Regions from separate parts of the Homo sapiens genome. Here region 2 is linked to region 1. The links are contacts of gene promoters, found by promoter capture Hi-C in blood cells and fetal thymus (Javierre and others, 2016). All regions are on one chromosome and are shown on one strand. The core of a region is centred on a gene start or on the middle of the fragment in contact, and the rest is flanking DNA. Distances in the headings are between cores, read along the strand shown.

Region 1 (5,299 bases), core at 1,666-4,165:
TAGATTTAAAATTTGCCCTGGAATTGGTGGGGTGTCTTACATTCTGGGAACTGCCATGGAAAACTTCACTCAGGAGGAACTACAAAGGCATTTGGGTTGTCCATCTGGTTTTGATACAACTCTCTTTCCCCCATTCCTTCATTTTCAGTGCTAGAAATTGAGCACACATTTCCTCGACAGTTTGGAGAACCGGTGTAGGTAGATCTATTCTTTTCCTAGTTCCATTCTGTCTGGATGTTCCTCCCTCCCCCGGTATCAGCAAGGATCTCAGAAGCAAAAATGCCATCTCCAAACGAAAACCTCATTTGAAATCAGATCCTCCAGGGCCATATTCCCTGCCACTCACTCACCTCTTCTTGTAGTCCTCCACCAAATCCTGCATGTTCCTCAGCTCCGAATCCAGCCTCACCCCGTCCCCAGACAGCATCTCCAGCTGCTTCTGCAGGTTGCTGATGTAGCCCTCATAAATGGGCTCCAGGTTCTTCCTGCAGTTGTTCAAGTCCAGCTGCTGTAGGAGGTTCCACTTGGTCTCTAGCACCTGATTCTGCTGCTCCAGGAACCGCACCTGGAACCCAAAGGCAGTCATCGCCCAGAGTCCCCATGTTGTTGCCTCTCAAGAGTGGGGAAAGGGCCCCAAAAACCAGAGGCAGCCATCCTGGGGGACTGGGGGTAGGAGAAAACAAGGCTTATCCCGGGGTGGATTCAGCCGAGGGACATGCTCACCTGGATCTCCAAGACAAGAAATAGGACCCGGTCTATATGGAATCAGGAAGAGGGCTTAAGCAATGGTACCATCTGCCTCTGCCTCAGTGAGTTTTCATGAGACAGAGGTAGCTTCTCATGCTATAAATGCTGGTGTTTTCTGAGTAAAGAGAAATGGGGAGCAGGGGAGAAACAGGGACTGGGGAGTGACATTGGAAAGCACACTGGCATTTAGAGCGTTCCTCCTGTTGTGTAGCCTAAATTGCACTTGGTTTGTTCATTTCTTTGTTGTTCACAGCAAGTTACCACATCTTCACAAAGTTCCTTCATACTTGACCAGGGTGCACATTTTTAGACTCAATAACTCCAAGCCCTCTGCCACACACCAGCATTCCTCTTCTCACCTATCTTTCAGCTTGAGGGGCAGAAGGAAACATGCTAGGGAACAACAGACATAAAAGAGCAAGAGAATGCTCTGGCCTCTGGAATAGCTGCTGTGTTTCTTCCATGCAGACCTGTGCCCTCCCGCCACCTCAATTCCTCTTCCCTAGCATAGTGGTGACACTCGGTCCACCACCAACTGTCCTGTCCAAGGTGAGCTCATTTCTTAGCCTCCCATGTCTTAATATCCTCATCTGCAAGGCAGAACAACAACAGAATCATGGGTTGTGATTGTAAATGAGAATCACTTGGGACGGCACCATAAATGTCAGCTATTGTTATCAGGCTGTCCCCTTATCACTCACCGTCTAGACCTTCCATCCAGGTGGAGACAAGAGAAGTCCATTCCCTGTCTCCTCTCCACTCACTGGGGTCATTGCCTCAGAAGCTCCAGAGACAACTTCCCTATTACCCCAATTTCTGGATGCCCCACCCTCAGCACACACCTGTAACTTTACATGCACTCTTTCCAAGTGCCTCCTCAGCCTCACCCTTCAGTTTTCTGGCCCTTTTCTCTCACCTCCTCTATCATCTTCCTGGCTACACACTTACCCCACTCCTCAAGCACCAAGCACCATGTCCTGCAACGTCTCTTGGCCTCTGTTCCTAATGCCCTGCCCTGAATGTGGGTCCCATCTCCTCTTCTGATATTGGGAGCTCTCAAAGTGCCCATTCCTTGGACATCCTGACCCCTCCCTTCTCACAGTCTTGTCTCATGCAAGAAAGAAATGAAGGTCCTTGATACGTTTTGGCTGTGTCCCCACCCAAATCTCAACTTGAATTAAGTCTCCCAGAATTCCCACGTGTTGTGGGAGGGACCCAGGGGGGAGGTAAATGAATCATAGGGGCCGGTCTTTCTCCTGCTATTCTCCTAATAGTGAATAAGTATCACGAGATCTGATGCGTTTATCAGGGGTTTCCGTTTTTGCTTCTGCCTCATTTTTCTCTGGCCGCCGCCATATAAGACGTGACTTTGGCCTCCCGTTATGATTCTGAGACCTCCCCAGCCATGGAGAACTGTAAGTCCAATGAAACCTCTTTTTTTTTTTCCCAGTCTCGGGTATGTCTTTATCAGCAGCATGAAAATGGGCTAATACATCCTGTTTATTGGAAGTATGTGCCAGGCACTGTTCTGAGCACTTCGTAAACATCCCAATTAAGCCTCATCGCAACCCACTGGAGTAAGACCCATTATTGTGCCCATTTTACAAATGGAAAAGGGAGGCTCGGAGAGGTTATGACCCGCCCACGCTCCCACACAGCTCGCCAGTGGCAGAGCCAGCACCACTGTGCACATGCGCCCAACGCAGGGACAGGCCAATGCCCGAGGACTCACCTTGTCGATGAAGGAGGCGAACTTGTTGTTTAGCGCCTTGATCTGCTCCCGCTCCTGGGCGCGCACCCTCTGGATCTCGGGGTCCATCTCCACGTTGAGCGGGGCCAGGAGGCTCTTGTTGACGGTGACCTGAGGGATGCCCCCGGGTGGGCACACGGAGGGACACTTGGGCCCCAGCCCGGCGCTGCCGAAGGCGGTGCCCACGAAGCCGCCCAGGCGGCCGCCGCCCCGCCGTGCAGCAGCGCTGAGCGCCAGGCTTCGGCTGCCCCCAAGGCAGGAGAGGCTCTTGCTGCCAAAGGAGGCCGAGCCCTTGACCCGGGCCCGGAATGAGGCGGAGCTGCTGCCGATCCCGCCAGAGAGGACCGCGGAGCAACCGCTGAAGCCCAGGCGCTCCCCGCGGGGGAAATGGGTCAGTTGGCGGCTCATGGCTCGCAAGTACCGGTGCTGGCCGCGCGGGAGGCAGAAGGGGCGCAAACAGCCGCTGCGTTCTCGGCCCAGCTCGCCCCTTAAATAGCCTGGCTGGCTGGAGTCAGCCTAATTTGTATGTCGACAACACCTTTTAGATCCCTTGAGGCCTCTTGGGTTCTTCATGTAGGAAATTACCATGCACTCACCGAGATTTTTGTCTGTTCCACCGTGAACTCCCCATGAATCCCTGTAAAGTGACCCAGAACCCAGCATTTACTTGGCTCACCTCCTGCATTATCATGGCTTAGCGACCTTATCTCCACCTGCTGGCCTCCAATTACTGGGGTTATCACTCCCAAGATCACCCCTGGAAACTTCCAGTGGGGCTGACCCTCTGGGTGTGTGTCTGGGGAGACGGAGGTGTGTGAAGCAGAAGTCCAGGCTGCTTCTGCTTCAGAAGGCCATGAATAGAGTCAAGACTATCGCAGAAAATCATCCTTAGCCTGTCCTCCTCCTGCCTCCCAGGCTTCTGGATGAGGACAGCTCTGTCCCTTGTGCAAGAAGGAAGTTCAGAAGGAGGAGATTTTGGCCCCGTCTGCAGAGACCTCTCAGTCTGTTGGAGAAGGCAGGACACAGAGACCTCTGGTCACAAGTGTTGAGGGTTGACTTTGGACCAGAGCGAAAAGATTTCTCCACTAAGCATTTCTGGACTAAGAATGGGGACCATGCTATCTGGGAGGGAGGGAAGAAGGCCTGGGGAGGTGGTACAGGAAGACTCAGGCATGGTTTAGCAGATGGTGTTTCCTAAGGCTTTCGGTTGTTTTCATTTTTGTTTTCTTTTAATAGCAGAAGAGGCTTATTTATCCCATCCAGCAAACCTCTGCTCAGGTCATTTGCCACCCAGTCATTTCTGATTCAGCATCAAAATGTGATCAGTTATTAGGAAGAGGTCAAGACTCTTCAGATCTAAAACCAAGAACTAGATTCTAGAACTTCATTCCCTTTAAGCTACAGAGGCTCCTTCTTCCACCTAACCCGATTTCCTTTTCTCAAACTTAAGCTGCCTTCAAGTCTCCTCCTCTCTTAGCAACAGCTCTCCTGTTCCTCTGGCATGCAGGTGGGATTATTTCATTGCTCTTATTTCTTAAGCTGCCAGAGTCCTGGGTGTGTGTTCCATTTCCTCTATCAGATTGACAGGGCCCCCTGGATTCACCCTTCCCTCCTCTGCTCCCCCAGTGCTCAGCCCAGGCCTTGGCCAAAGGGACATTTAGGATGATTGTGAAACAGCAGAGTGCTTAGGGCAAGGCTTGTTACTGCACCTTCAGTGATACCCTGAAGGCTGGGTTCCCCTTGGGGACCTCATGGGTTGGTTAAATGGTACCTGGGGGTAATTGGCTGACATAGCCTCCACTGGGCCAATGACAGGACATAATAACAGCCGAAGCGTTTACTCCACGGGGAACAAAGTTGTGAGGGCATTGTTAAGCGCTGGAGATGGCACCGATCACAGATGAACAGATAACGGCATCTGGGTGTCCTAGGTGGGAGAGAGGGTGGGCTCTCAGTGCTGCCTCAGAGGAGGGGCTGTAGTCCCTTCCCTCTGAAGAGGAGAAGGGCAGTGTCAGTGTGGCTGGGTGACAGCAGACCCTTCAAGAAGATCAAGGTTATGTTTTTTATTATTACATGAGATTTTCCCTCTACCCCGTAATTTTAGCCAGTTTTTTTTCCACAAGCACAAAAATGAATTTATTTATTCCAGCCATTGAGAATAGAAAAGCAAGGAATGGATTACACTGAAAGAGGAGAATTTTTACGTAGGATTGACTGACAAAGGGTGTCTTTGAAATAATTTTTTTTTTCTTCCTAGAAATTTTCTAAGGAGTTGAGATATCCTGGGACCAGGGCTCTTCTGCCCAGGGTTAGGGAACTGTAAGATGACCTTTTCTCATCTTCCTATGAGGGGTTGACTGGCTGGATGAATAAGGAATTCCTCAACCCCTGAATCACCTTTATTACAGATCATGAGGAGACACAAGTGACACATGCAGATTTCAAAGGCCTCAGATGTGTGGGGATGTCAGCAGATCAAAGGGGGTTGAGGCCTGGGAGGAGGGGTTCTCATTGCCTCTGCCTCTGACAGCAGCTTACGGTGTCACCTCAGGCCTTGGTGACCACCTCTGTCATTAGTTCTTGGGTTAAAGCAACCCCTGGATTAGTAAACCAGACAAGGAACATTGCCCTTAGAAATCAGATCTTTACTACAAAAGACGGATGAAACCACTCTAGGCTGAGAATTGAAAATGCATTGCTGGTTAAACTGGGTCTCCTTGCCCTGTAACACTACTTCTTGGGAAGTTAATAGGTATCATGGGAAAAAAAGATATGGGAATGGATTCTGTGCTTGGTTTAAAA
Region 2 (5,299 bases), core at 703-3,202, 79 kb after region 1:
CTACATGCTGCTTCATGATCTTAGCTTATTACTTTCTGGAACTCTTTTACAGCAAAAGTTAAGAACTGCCCAGACAGGGTCCCTTACTTGTTCCGGTAATCCTCCACCATGTCCTGCATGTTCTTCAGTTCCGAATCCAACCGAGATTGATCACTCTTCAGTTGGTCCACTCTCCTTCGGAGATTGTTGATGAATGACTCAAAGTAGGGCTCTAAATTATGGGTTCTAGTGGAGGTATCTACCTGCTGCAGCAGCTCCCATTTTGTTTGCAGTACCTGGTTCTGCTGCTCCAGGAACCTCACCTAAAAACACAAGACCCCTTTACTCCTGATGCATAAATGGAGTCTCATAGCCATGGAGAACTGTGCCTCATTTGGAAAAGAACCTCAATTCCTATCTTCTGACCATGACAGAGAAATAGGAAGAAGATGATCAAGTTAATATCATCTGCATAATAAAACCCAACTTGTTAATTCAGAGAGGGCTTGGAAGGGAGTAACTAAACAAATACCAATAGCAAAGCGCATACAGAATTATTGCAATTATGTTTTGAAATAGGTGCATGGTATTTAAGAGATTTGCCTTCCAAAATTTTGTTAGGTATATTACCATAAAAACTGGTTTGCATCCCCAGGACACACACACATTTCAAAAGTATATCAGGAAAATTCAAAATTGGATTTGAAATTTGTTGTGGATAACCTTGGATTGGCACTATTAATGATTAAGCAAAAAATTAAAAAAATGGTTTATCTGAGTTTTTTAGAGCTGATTTTTGGAGATATTAGTATAAAAAAACTCTAGCCTCATCCAGTACCAATGTAAAATTATTAGAAGGCAGAGCTCCCCTCTGACAGCAAAAGATGTTTGGCACTGACTGACCACATGTTTTCTGCTACAATAACACTCTATACTATGTTCACACTCAACTCCCTTTCTATGGTTAGGAAGACCTTTCCAGGGTTCTCACTTGCACCCTGGAAAGTTCAGTTAGCCCCATTTCTATTATCTTCATTCAACAGATATGAGTCCCAATTCCGCTCAAGAGCTGAATAAAAAGCACTTAAATGTTAATGTCACACTGACCCACCTTTAGGTCGACCACGAACCCTTTGTCAAAGAGAGAGTCATTAACACCATTCACAAGCATACATCTAACATATCTCCTAGGAGACCATTCCACAAAACATCCTTTTAATCATGTAAACATGGAAACTTGAGGTTCAAACCTACTGTGTTTTGACTGCACCAATCCCAAGTGGACCAGCGGCAGCCCTACCAGTGCAATGAGAGAGAAACTCACCTTGTCAATGAAGGAGGCAAATTGGTTGTTGAGTGACTTGATTTGCTCCCTTTCTCGAGACTTCACCTTTTGGATCTCAGGGTCAATCTCCACATTGAGGGGCTGAAGAAGGCTCTGGTTGATAGTGACTTCTTGTATGCCACCAGGAGGGCAGACAGGACCATAACCACCCCCATATCCACCACCCCCAAAGCCACCTCCACCAAAACCACCACCACCACTGCCAAAACCACCAAAGCCACCACCCCCAATGCCACCTCCACCAAAGCCACCACCACCAAAGCCACCACCACCAAAGCCACCACCACCATAACCACCACCAAAGCCACTACCACGTCCACCTCCTCTAGCCACACTTATGGAGATGCTTTTACTGCCACCAAGGTTAACAAGACTCCGACTTCCAAATCCACCACCAGCACCAAAGCTACCACCACCACCACCACAGCTTGAAAATCTCCCACCACCTCCTCCACTGCGGCGTGTGGAGCTGCTGGTGGTCCTGCGCTGGTAGTTGATGATCCCAGCAGAGCCAGAGCTGAAGCCCCCTCCACTTCGGTACCCAGACCTGGAACTAAACTGTCGACTCATGTTGACTTAGAGAAAAGTAGGAGCAAGGTAGAGTAAGGGAAGGAGCTAAACACTCCTCTACCCCAAGCATAGAGACTTCCCCTTATATACAGGGAAGAAATTGGGCTTGGTCTTCTAGAGTCAGCGGAGATGCAGTGCCTGTCAAGGGTTTGGCTTGCCTGCAGCCATACAAGATTTTTACGAGCCTCAACAATACGATAAACACTACACACCTAGCTCCCAGGATGGGCTCTCAAAATTGCTGTGCATGCAAGATTGGTTCATGTGGTAATTATTTTATCACACAAGATCTTCCTTCAAGCATTTGTGGCTTTGGGAAAACAGGACCCCACATCTGATACCTGGTGTTTCTTGGTAGGATTTCATAACCCCCATCAAAAAGGCATGAAAGTTTCTATTCTCACCTTGCCTTTGTGAGCTACCAAGCACACTCTCTTACCATGCACAGCAGGTGCAATTCCCCGTGCTTGGATCTCAGAAGGAGCTCTCTGGCCCATTTCTAAGATCTTCTTTCCAAACTCCAGAGCTCACTCAGTTACAACCTGACAAAGAGAAAGGGCTTTAATAACTAAAAAATTAAAAGGTCTTTCATAAATATAAGCTTTATAAATATACCACAGTGATTAATTAAAGGAAGAGAAGCTGTCATTGAACAAGATGGATGAGTGGGTGGTCTGGAAGAACCAGAAGGGAGAGACATTTTTTTTCTCTGTTTCTCAGTTATTCCTTTTCTTGTTTCTTTTCTTCAAAGATAGAGCAGGAGACAGACACCAGCAATAGAAAACAGGTAGCAATGGATAGCATGCAAACGCCCTTGAGTGAAAAAGCCCACAGAGCAGTGAGACGAGTAAATAGAAGCTCTAGGACATTTTGTAAAGCACAGGGGTGGAGGTGAGGCTTGATAGGTGATTCAAGCCTCACACTGGACTGCAAAGAGAGAGAGATAAATGCAGATTTGGAAGGGAAGACAATGAGAGGTGTCTGGAGAGCCTTATATGAGAAGTTTAAATTGTTTCTGGAGGTGATAATAATGATAATACCTAACATGTATCAAAAACTGACCATGTACCAGGCACTGTTCTACGTAGCACATATGTATTAACTTGCTTAATTTTCACAACTTTGAGATAGATGCTATTTTTCTCCCCATTTGTAAAATGAGGAAGCAGAGACACAGGGGTTGAATAACGTGATCAAGTCTACACAGTTGGTAAGTGGGGTGCCTGCGATTTGAAGCAAGAATACCTAGCTATCATGTGCAAGATCCTAAACAGCATGTTGTACGACAGCACAGCAGCCGAATTCAAGTCATTCTGCCTGCTGTGTGTAAAGCCAGACAGCACAGGAAGCGCCCCACCACAGAGAGCTCTGAGGGCAGAAGGCCTGTTTTATCACTCTGAGTCCTTGGCTCCTGGCACATGCAAGTCTTGGAAAATGTTTCTTCAATTCACACTGAGAAGGAGATTTTGGTGGCACAGAGTTTAGTGAGGAGATTTTACTTCCATCCAAGTGCAAGAGTACCCAGCATGCATTGCAATGGACCAGGAAACCTCAGGGGTCTTCCTGGAGAGCAGCACTTGATCAATATCAGTGGATAATAGTGGCACTGAGATCTGGACACACTAGAAGCCCAAGCAGACTTTCATTCGAAGACTTCTTAGAAGCCTGGCATGGTCCCCGGGCCTGCACATAAACACAGAATTGAAGACTCAAAGGGGAGAAGCCAGCTCTAACTTCAGCTGGCTCCAAGTAACTCTGTAAGTGGCAAACCATAGATGTACATGGGAAGTCTCCACTATGGTGTGCAAGATCTATGGGAGAAAGGGAGTCTGTGAAGATCATCTGGTCCCATTACTCTGTGGCTCTGAATCGGGCTGGCTGTGTCGGTCCTCTCCATTGCACTCCGCTATTGAACCTTGTCCCTCTTCTCCTCCCAGTTTTTGCCCTATACCCTCCTCCAGAAAGTGCCCCTCACCGCTCCCCTGCTACTCCTCTCCCTCGCCATCACTGTGGCACTGCTGTCTGGGACTCTGTCCTAGCACTAAAATCCTTCGGCTGCTAAACCAACCATCTCTTTAGGGAATGAGTAATTCAGGTCTTGTTAGGAACAATGGAGACTGGGACAGTCTTGGCATGGTAATGACTGTTGCCTAATCATTTTCTGACAAGCAATCAAAATTATTTTAGTTCAGCATACTCCCTCATGAGACATATTGTTCTGCACAATCGATTCCTTCTAGCATTTTGGAGGGGTGTGAGTATGTGTGTGCACACATGTTTGTGTGCACACATGTTTGTGTGCATGTGTGTGCCAGCCAAAAACAGACCTTGGCAGTGATCCACACTCCCATCTTTGAACTAAGAAACTGACATACAGAAAAATCAAAGGTTTGAATGAATGGTCAGGGAATTGGTAGACAACTTAGCTGCAAAACATACCCCAGGTGCTCCTGTGAGAAGGGAGAAATGCAGGACTAGCAGGAATAAGTGCCATAAACCTCACCATAGCTTACATTTGCACAGCTCACCCCACCAAACACATATGCAAAGAGCATCCCACAAGAGCCCTGAGAACTAGGCAATCAAGCTGTTCTCAACCCATTTCATGAAACAGAAAACTGATTCTCAGAGATTAAGTGGCTTCCTCTAGACACTCCGGCTAGGAAAAGACACATCTGGAAGCAGAATCTGGGTTTTCTGATTTCAATTCAAGTGACATTCCTCCCTGAACCGGGAAGAGGCTCAAAGACAGGCAAGTGGAACTGGGCCCTATAAACAAGTACACAGAGAATTACAGAATGTTCTCATCCATGGGGCCTCAAAGGTCACATCATCTAACCTGCCTCACAGAGAAGTGAGAGCACAGGCCCAAAAAAGTAAAAAAAAAAAAAAAAAAAAAAAAAAGTGTCCAAGTCATAAGTCAATTCCTGAGACTCTTCCAATTGTTGAATCAAACTCCTTTTCTTTTTCCACTGCCCACTTTCGAGGCAGCCCAACAGAGCTGGAGCTGCAGTGCTGCCAGACCAGGCCCGTCATCTCCTGTGATGTCCCCAGGATCAGTGTGGGTGTGTGGGATATGAAGAACCACATGCAGGAAAGGTGTGAGCCACACACTCTCTCCTGGCTTACTTATGTACTGTGCATTTATGAAATAAAGACAAAATGAGAAAGAAAGAGACACTAACATCTACAGGCAGCAACTATGCTGTTAGGAGCCACATTGCATTTAAATACCACACAAAGTCTGCGTCGTGGGAGCTCTTAGCCCCATTTTAAAGAAAAGGCATCTTAGGTTTATAGAGGTTGAAATATGTGCCCAAAGTCATCCAGCAGGTAACTGACAAGCCACGCTTGCCTCACTCCAGAGTCCAAGCCCGCCGCATCACATGGGCTCCTTCTGTCATT

The links. Contacts are between HindIII fragments. The CHiCAGO score rates a contact against its expected background, and 5 or more counts as called.
Region 2: the fragment with the promoter of KRT1 here is called in contact with the fragment with the promoter of KRT72 in region 1 in 1 of 17 cell types (erythroblasts); the score reaches 5.7 in erythroblasts.

The regions. Positions count from the first base shown.
Region 1 is chr12:52,598,548-52,603,846 of GRCh38, forward strand. It overlaps KRT72 (keratin 72), which reads right to left and starts at 2,916. Exons shown (of 9, transcript NM_080747.3): 1 at 2,480-2,916; 2 at 351-565. The coding sequence starts at 2,905. The HindIII fragment of the contact is 8,078 bases long and covers 1-5,299 here.
Region 2 is chr12:52,678,455-52,683,753 of GRCh38, forward strand. It overlaps KRT1 (keratin 1), which reads right to left and starts at 1,953. Exons shown (of 9, transcript NM_006121.4): 1 at 1,304-1,953; 2 at 88-302. The coding sequence starts at 1,894. The HindIII fragment of the contact is 12,025 bases long and covers 1-2,493 here.